Linked DNA regions of Homo sapiens: all the other regions are linked to region 3. The links are contacts of gene promoters, found by promoter capture Hi-C in blood cells and fetal thymus (Javierre and others, 2016). All regions are on one chromosome and are shown on one strand. The core of a region is centred on a gene start or on the middle of the fragment in contact, and the rest is flanking DNA. Distances in the headings are between cores, read along the strand shown. Region 1 overlaps LOC105370569 (a long non-coding RNA gene). Region 2 holds the start of LOC107984653 (a long non-coding RNA gene). Region 3 holds the start of LINC01220 (long intergenic non-protein coding RNA 1220).

Region 1 (2,727 bases), core at 150-2,649, 450 kb before region 3:
CCCACCATCTCTAACCCTTGGCAGCCACTAATCTGGTCTCCATTTTTATAATCTTGTCATTTAAAGAATGTTATAAATATGAAGTCATACAGTATGTAACCTTTTGGGATTGGCATTTTGGCTTTTTTCACTCAGCGTAATTTTCTTGAGATTCATTTAAGTTGTTATGTGTGTCAATAGCTTATTCCTTTTTATTGCTGAGTAGCTTTCCAACTCATTCTCTTTTGCAGCTGCAGAATGTTTTATGTCTTTACTATCATTTTAACTTACAGAGTCTCTATTAATGGGTATTCATGCTCTCGTTTACTGTTATAAATTATGAATTTCACATATACTCAGTCATTCTGCAGCTTCCTGTACTTGCCTGATTTCTAGCAATGAAGGAAAATACCGATGGCACCATTTCATAGACATACTCAAAGGATGACAAGCACTTAAGGACCAGCACAGCACAGCGGTGAACTCTCAAGACAGTATGACAGTAATGAGATGACGAAGGCACATCTTGTTTCCTGGAAAATTCTGCATGATAGGAGACTGACAAAGCAAAGAACCATGATGTGTCTTAGAGAACCAGAATGGTCAGAGACTCTGATGATCCCCTGGTCCACACGTGACTGAGAGTTAATACCTTAGGTCACTGTTCTCAGAACCTGGATATTTATATGCACGTGCACCTCAGTGACTGATCCATTCTCAGTTTTCAGGTCCATTGCTTTCACATTTGAAATAGTCAAGGAGCATCTTTATGACTGGGGCTGAGCTTCTGCATTCATGTACAGCCCTCTGCCTGCCAGCAGTGCCTTGCATTTGTGATCCTACAAAGAGCCTGTGGACTTAATGGTTTACTGTATAGGGAAAGGCTTGACTTTGTGTCTTCTACTTAAGAAGCTTGAACTTTTTACCAAATATTCGTACTCCTTTTCCTGAAAATACTGATCTAGGCTACAGATCCATCTCTTAACCATATTTGAAAAATTGAAATAATATCTTCTGCCATAACTTGAAATTCCACTCTCAGATCTGTTATTTCTGACAGTGAGTTTGTATTTCTCAAGTAGATATGTCTGATGCTTATTTCTTTTACAGCATCTGGCTCAGTGCATGGCTCATATATCTGTAGAGTGAGTAAATACAGGGAATGTTTCCTATGTGTATGGCAAGGGTCACAGACTCAGGCAGGTAACAGATGAGCAAGGCAGAGGGTGGAGACTGGTAAACTAGACAACTAGATAGGTCAGGTCAATCGGGGGCAGCACCTGCTCAGCCATAGCAGATTGTGGCCATGTGGGGATATAGGTCTCATATTGCCAGATTTCCTGGGTTTTCAAGAAAAAGTGAAAAATCTGGATTTTTATGTGAGATCTTCCAGTATTTCAGCATCAGGTTCTTTTTGTTTGTGAGTGCTTTGGCCCTCACAGCCTGCCTGCCACATCTGACTTGTGGACTGCCGGCTTGAAACCTTTGATATTTAGAGAAGTGGTTAGACCTTAGAGTTGGTTCTGGTGAGATCCTTCTTGTTTTACAGATGAGGTTTCTGAGACCGAAAGAAGGGAAGTGACTTGCTCAAAGTCTCACTGTTACTCAGTGGCAAAACAAGACTAGAATTTGGGTTTCCTGGTCCATAACCTGTCACTTTCTTTTTTCTTAACTACAATACCTCCTTTATGAAGACCTTCATAAATTCTAGGATGGTGAATTCTCCTTTATTTTGTGTGTCGTGTGCAAGTGGACATGTGTGTATTTACTAAACTCTGTGGACCTGGAAATACATTCTGATATGACTATCAGGAACAATGTGATTACTTCTGAAACCAACTTCCTTAAACTCTCATGTATAAGGTAGCTATACACCTAGGATCCCTCTTAAACACTTACTACTTGGTTGGGTAATTCTCATGAATAACAGAAGCTTGAAAATTAACAGAGTATTGGATTCAGTGATTGTACAAGAGCAGTGGAGTTTTCTCCACAAAGTAGAGAAAATCATTTGTGTATTGTTATGCAAATAGCTTACAGAACTATTAATAATTTTGTTTTCTTTAATTTGTAATTTCTTATGTAACTAGTCCATTTGCTTTCACCCAGTGATGAGCATCTTACCTGCTTCACTCGGTAGCGCTCCATTCCTAATCTTTTTAAGGACAAATTCATCAACTTGGCGTTAAAGTCTATCAGTAACATGATCCCAGCTACTTCTCCAGATTCCTCTTGAGCTGTCCTTACTACATGTGCACTACACTGCAGCCACACTGTGTGACTTATTCCCTGGGGTTTCTATTGTTTCTGCCTTGCTTTTCTCATCCTTTAGATATTAGCATTATTGGCTGGGCACAGTGGTTCACACTTGTAATCCTAGCACTTTGGGAAGCTGAGGCAGGCAGATCACTTGAGCCCAGGAATTAGAGACCAGCCTGGGCAACAAAAATGTCGGCTGCAGTGAGCTGATACTGCTGTCCACCCTGGGCAACAGGGTGTGAGACCTCATCTCAAAAAAAAAAAAAAAAAAAAAAAGCCAGGCACGGTGGCTCATGCCTGTAATCCCAGCATTTTGAGAGGCCGAGGCAGGTGGATCATGCAAGGTCAGGAGTTTGAGACCAGCCTGGACAACATGGTGAAACCCCATCTCTACTAAAAATATAAAAATTTTCAGCTACTCGGGAGGCTGAGCCAGGAGAATCACTTGAACCCAGGAGGCAGTGACCCAAGATTACACCACTGCACTCC
Region 2 (2,717 bases), core at 9-2,508, 260 kb after region 3:
TGAGTTACTCGGGGTGATTATATGATGAAGACTCAATTCTTAGTGGGGGCGCTGGAGACCTTGCACCCTCTGTCCCCCAGCTCACTTCATATCACCCTCTTTTCCTCTGCACTGGCATCTGTCCCTTCCCCAAATCTCTGCGTGCTCCCTCCAGCCCAAGAGCCTTGCTCATTCTGCTCAGCCCTAACTGAAATGCTCTTACCCTTCTAGCTCATTCATTCCTACCTTTTGTCAAATACCAGCTTGGGGAAATTTTGCTTGATTCCCAGGCTAGATCAGAACTGCAATTTCAAATAGTTTCATAGCACCTCATGCCCTTCCTTTATACCCATTAACACAGACTGAAAATTTACATTTATCTATGTGGTTATTTGGTTAACATTTGTCTCTGTGACTGGACCATCCATTCTATAATGTCAGGGATTGCCAATGTTTTGCTCACCATTGTATTCTCAGCTCCTTGCACAGTAGCAAAGAGCCTACCACAGAGTAGAAATTCAATAAATATTCATTGGCTGAATGAATAAATGGATGGATGGATGGAACACAGTGCCTGCCTTCTAGGAATGTAAAATCCAAGCCAATTATTATTCTGACGATGGAATACAAATGACAAAATAAATATTCAGTTAACATATAAAAAGTAAGAATCAATCAGATATTTTAAGAGCAGGAATCAAGGGAAGGCATGTATTCTTGTGAAGATGGTAGAGATTAGGGATAGAGTCCCAGGTGGGGCTGGAAGAGGCGAGGGCAGGGAACTGTGTCTCCTCAGTCACAGTGTTATCTAGCTTTTAGTCTGTGTCTAGCTGTCACCTATTAGACAGAGGGAAAGACCAGGATCAAAGTAAAAGCAAGTTGGAATCCTGCACAAGGCCCTGTAGAAATAGATTAGCCCCAGTCCACCCTCATCGCCTATTTTCTATTACTCCAAATCCTGCTTCCATGGTAATGGAAGCTGGTTGGCCTGCCTTGCTGGTGGTTCATGCCTCTACACCCTACAAACACGAACACAACCTACGTACTGCTGTAATTGAATACCACAGACTCAGTAATTTACAAAGAAATGAAATTTATTTCTCACAACTCTGGAGGCTGGCCAGTCCAAGAGCATGGCACCAGTATCTGGCCAGGGTCATCCCATGGCAGAAGGGTGGAAGGCAGAAGTGAGCACATGAGACAGAGAGGGGAGCAGACCAAACTCCACCTTTTTATCAGGAACCCACTCCTGCAACAACCAACTCATTCCTGTGATAATGGCGTTAATCTATTCATGAGAGTGGAGCCCTCATGAGCTAATCACCTCTTAAAGGTCCTGCCTCTCAACACTGTTTCAATGGCAATTAAATTTCAGTATGAGTTTTGGAGGGCACATTCAAACCGAAGTGGCTCCAACCCCACATTTTCACTTGGGATTGCCCTAGTGGGGACTCTCTGAGGTGACCGTTCCCCTGAAGCAGATTTCTACTTGAGCTTCCAGGTGATCCATGACATCCTTTGAAATCTAAGCAGAGGAAGCCATGCTTCTATAGCCCTTGCATTTTGCATCCTTGCAGACTTAACACCAAATGTTTGCCATCAAGGTTTACCACCTATTCTTTCTGGAGCACCCAGGCTGCTTGAGCCACAGCTGGGAGGGCTGAGAGGCACTGTGCTGAAATTCAGGGAGCAGAGAGAGAGAGTTTCACTTTGTCACCCAGCCTGGAGTGCAGTGGCATGATTATAACTCACTGCAGCCTCGAACTCCTGGGCTCAAGGGATCCTCCTTCCTCAGCCTTCCAAGTAACTGGGACTACACATGCCACCACACCCAGCTAATTAAATTTTTTTTTTTTTTTTTAGAGATGAAGTTTCACTACATTGCCCAGGCTAGTGTTGAACTCCTAACCTCAAGTGATCCTCCTGCCTCAGCCTCCTGAGTTGCTGGGATTACAGGTGTGAATCACCATGCCCAGCTTGGGTAATTTGTAGGGAAAAAAAATTATTTCTCATAGTTCTGGAGGCTGGGAAATCCAAGAGCATGGCGCCAGCATCTGGCAAGTGTTATCCCATGGCAGAAGGGTGGAAGGTGGAAGCAAGCACATGAGACAGAAAGGGAAGTGAGCCAAACTCGTCTTTTTTATTGGGAACCCACTCCAAAGATAAACCCGCTTCTGTGACAATGACATTAATCGAGGGACCCATTAATCCATGAGGGCTCTGTCCTCATGACCGAATCACTTCTTAAAGGCCCCGCTTCTCAACTCTGTTACAATGGCAATTAAATTTCAACACGAGTTTTGGAGGAGACATTTAAACCACAGCAATCATTGAGAGAAGATGACAGAGACCAGATATCTACTTACATCGTGCCCAAAACCCCCAGTGGTGACTCATGGTGGACAGTTAAATGGCTGTCCAGATAGGCCATTCACTAACCCATGAGTGAGGGCAGAGACTATCTGTGTCTTGTTTACTGCTATATTCCTAGTGCCCAGCAGAGCAGATATGTGATATTTATAGGTTTGATAAATGAATTAATTAATCATAAATATAAATAATTCATTCATTCATATATTCTCAAGCCTTGTCTACTTCAGGTTGAGAATTTTGAGTTTGGACTGTGACTAAATTACCTATGGCTCCCTCAAAGGTTTGTGTCTCATTGTTTATCCCCAGGGGGTGGGGGAACAAGTCCATAAGAGCCCTAAATGCCCAGGAAGCAGGACTGACTGGGA
Region 3 (2,980 bases), core at 444-2,943:
CCATGTAACCATTTGGAGTTTTCGTGTTTAAAATTTAAAATTGCGAAGCAGTGTGATACAGTGTTTTGCCATGTTTTTATTTGACAAATGCACATTTTAGTTAATAACTAAATATTTTTACTAGATTTGAATATTATCTTTAAAATAGATAATTCCTTTTGCTTATTTATTTTTGAGAGAGGGTCTCCCTGTCACTCAGGCTGGAGTGCAGTGACTGCAATCAAGGCTCACTGCAGCCTTGACTGCCCTGGCCCAAGATCTTCCCACCTCAGCCTCCCAAGTAGCTGGGATCACAGGTGTGCACCACCATGCCCAGCTATTTTTTTTTATTTTTGTAGAGTCGGGGTCTCCTTATGTTGCCCAGGCTGGTCTAGAACTCCTAGGTTCAAGTGATCCTCCTGCCTTGGCCTCCCAAAGTGCTGGGATTACAGGCGTGGGCCACAGCGCCCGGCCCCCTTTTATTTTAAATCTAAAGAAGACTCGAGAAAAAAAACATTACGTCAGTAGTAGATTTAGGAGATGCACTACTAATACTACGTAAGTTTCTCTTGTGCTGCCTGGGAATAAAAATAAACACTTAACACTAACTTGGGGCTCACAACATGCTTGACACTGTTCCAAACACACACACACACACACACACACACACACACACACACACTCATTTTAAAAGTCCTCATCTACTCTTAAAGGTAGGTCCTGCTATTATCCTTATTTTTGTAGATAATAATATAGTCTGGGGCGCAGAGGTCTGCTCAAGATCATCCAACTGGAGTGGCAGCGCTGGAATTAGAGTCCAGGCAGTGTGGCTTCAATGCCTGAACTCTTAGCCATTAGAAAGGAAAAACAAAGCAAAATCAGTATCCGCAACAACCTTGCAGGCACGGAGGCCCTCAGAAGGGACAGGAGAGGCCGGGCGCGGTAATCCCAGCACTTTGGGAGGCCGAGGCGGGCGGATCACCTGAGGTCAGGAGTTGGAGACCAACCTGGCCAACGTGGTGAAATCCTGTCTCTACTAAAAATGTAAAAAATTAGCCGGGTACGGTGGCGCGCGCCTGTAGTTCCAGCTACTTGGGAGCCTGGGGCGGGAGAATCGCTTGAACCGGGAGGCAGAGGTTGCAGTGAGCAGAGATCGCGCCAGTGCACTCCAGCCTGGGCGATAGAGCGTGACTCCATCTCAAAAAAAAAAAAAAAAAAAAAAAAAAAAACAAAGGAAAAGAAAAAGAAGGGACAGGAGGGCCTCCTTCCGCTCCTGACCAGCCCCTGCTGGCCCGTGGGCAGAGGGAGAGCCGGCTTCCAGGGACCTCAGGGAGGGACGTTTGGGAGTGCTCTCTCAGCGTCCCCTCCACCGCCCTCTCTACACCCTTGCCGCGCCCCTGTCCTCGTCGGCCAGGCCAAGGTTTCTCCTGGCCCTTCCCAGCTTCCGGCCCTTTGCTCCAGGGCAGGTCGCAGGGCCAGACGGTGCCAGGAGCTCGCGAGTCCTCTGTTTACTGTTTGGTTTCCACGGTGACACGTAGGCGCCGTCAGCGACTCCCGTCACCGCCCCGCAGCGCGGCCCCCACCCGGCGCCGTGACGCCGGCCCGCCGCTTCCGCTCTGCCCATATTTGGCTCAGCCACTGCGCCGCCGGCCCGGGGTAGGCTGTGGGCGGGACTCCCGCCGCGCCCCGCCCCCGGTCCCTGCCCCGCCCCTGGAATGCTGGGCGAAGGCTCCGAGCCACGAGACCCCCGCCTCCTGTCCCGGGACCCACCCAGGCGGAGGCAAGGGCAGGGGCGCTGGGGGCCCAGAGAGAGGGCGCCGCGATGGATGAATGAGCTGTTTCCAGCATTCCTGTGCGTCTGCTGGTTGTAGCTGCAGTCAAGATTTGGGGCGGTCTCGTTTGTTGTGGGTGGGTGATCTGGGATCACGATTTTCTCACTCTGTGCCCGGAAATCATGCCATCTCTCGCCCAACGCTGTATTTTATAGGCTTCAACTCAAAATTTTCCTTCATGGCACAGTGGAAAGCTTTGAAGACGGCGGTTCTGGGGTCAGTGTTGCCCCTCGGGGGATAAGTGACCTTGGGAAGGCCATTTTCCTTTTCCTGGCATGATAAAACGAACCGTGGGGGTGGTCCATAATGGTTGCAGCACTGTCATCAGGCTTGTGAGGGGAGCTTTTCCATCACCCTCTAACCACCCCCTCCCCAGGACATAACTGGAATATCAGTGAAGTTCTTTGAGCATCGACCCCCTACAGTTCTGCCCCCTGTGGTGATTGGATTTGTGTGTCTCTGCACCTTGCTCCTATTAGGCGCTTAATGAACTTTAGTTAACTGATTATTGAATGAATAATACGAATCACCTTCATAAATCCGGACCCCTGCAATTCCTCTTCCAGGCCGGGCGAGGGGGAGGGTAGGGGATGGGGGAGAATATTGAGATGATTAATAATCGCGCGGCAGGGTTGCTGATGTAAAGCGATTTGCAGATCTAAAGGGCAATAAGCATTCCTGGGAGAAATCCAGCGAGATTCCAGAAGTCTCTGAGGGAGCCGTGGGTGTGTACCGCCGGGCCCAGAGGGCGGGGGTGGGGCAGGCAGTGCCGCAGTGGCCGCTGCTGGGGAGCCGATTGCAATTGCGAGGAGAAGCGTGGGGTTAATCCTTCAAGACGCCTGTCACCATCCTCCCACCCCCATCCCTGCCCCCTAGATTCCCCAGTTCCTCTGGCTGAAGGAGTGTGTGTTTTCCAGAGTTTCAGAGCTGGAAGTCACATCGGAGACTTTTAATCTAATTTAACCTATTTCGCCAACAGGGAAATTAAAGCTCAGAGAAGTTGGTTCGACCATCCAAACTTGCACAGCTAGTTAGAAACTGATAAAAGTCAGGATATCTAGCTTCAAATAGTGTTCCACATCGCCTAGGTGCTTCTAATTTCCTGTGCTTCAGAACCCTGTTGCCTGGCTCAGCTGGTGGGTTGTACATTTAGGCTAAATATTGACTTC

Evidence for each region. Contacts are between HindIII fragments. The CHiCAGO score rates a contact against its expected background, and 5 or more counts as called.
Region 1: a contact is called between a fragment that was not itself captured here and the fragment with the promoter of LINC01220 in region 3, in 2 of 17 cell types (activated CD4 T cells and total B cells). The highest score is 6.4, in activated CD4 T cells.
Region 2: a contact is called between a fragment that was not itself captured here and the fragment with the promoter of LINC01220 in region 3, in 1 of 17 cell types (activated CD4 T cells). The highest score is 9.2, in activated CD4 T cells.

Annotation. Positions count from the first base shown.
Region 1 is chr14:74,840,226-74,842,952 of GRCh38, forward strand. LOC105370569 (a long non-coding RNA gene) reads left to right here. Exons shown (of 2, transcript XR_944033.3): 2 at 376-1,794. Among named protein-coding and RNA genes, the nearest start is that of PROX2, 35 kb to the right of the region's middle. RefSeq lists an enhancer at 1,677-1,836. The HindIII fragment of the contact is 1,021 bases long and covers 890-1,910 here.
Region 2 is chr14:75,556,272-75,558,988 of GRCh38, forward strand. It overlaps LOC107984653 (a long non-coding RNA gene), which reads left to right and starts at 1,900. Exons shown (of 2, transcript XR_001750830.1): 1 at 1,900-1,935. The HindIII fragment of the contact is 4,794 bases long and covers 1-2,717 here.
Region 3 is chr14:75,292,711-75,295,690 of GRCh38, forward strand. It overlaps LINC01220 (long intergenic non-protein coding RNA 1220), which reads left to right and starts at 1,694. Exons shown (of 3, transcript NR_038421.1): 1 at 1,694-1,831; 2 at 1,967-2,027. RefSeq lists an enhancer at 1,262-1,401 and a silencer at 1,472-1,931. The HindIII fragment of the contact is 10,176 bases long and covers 1-2,003 here.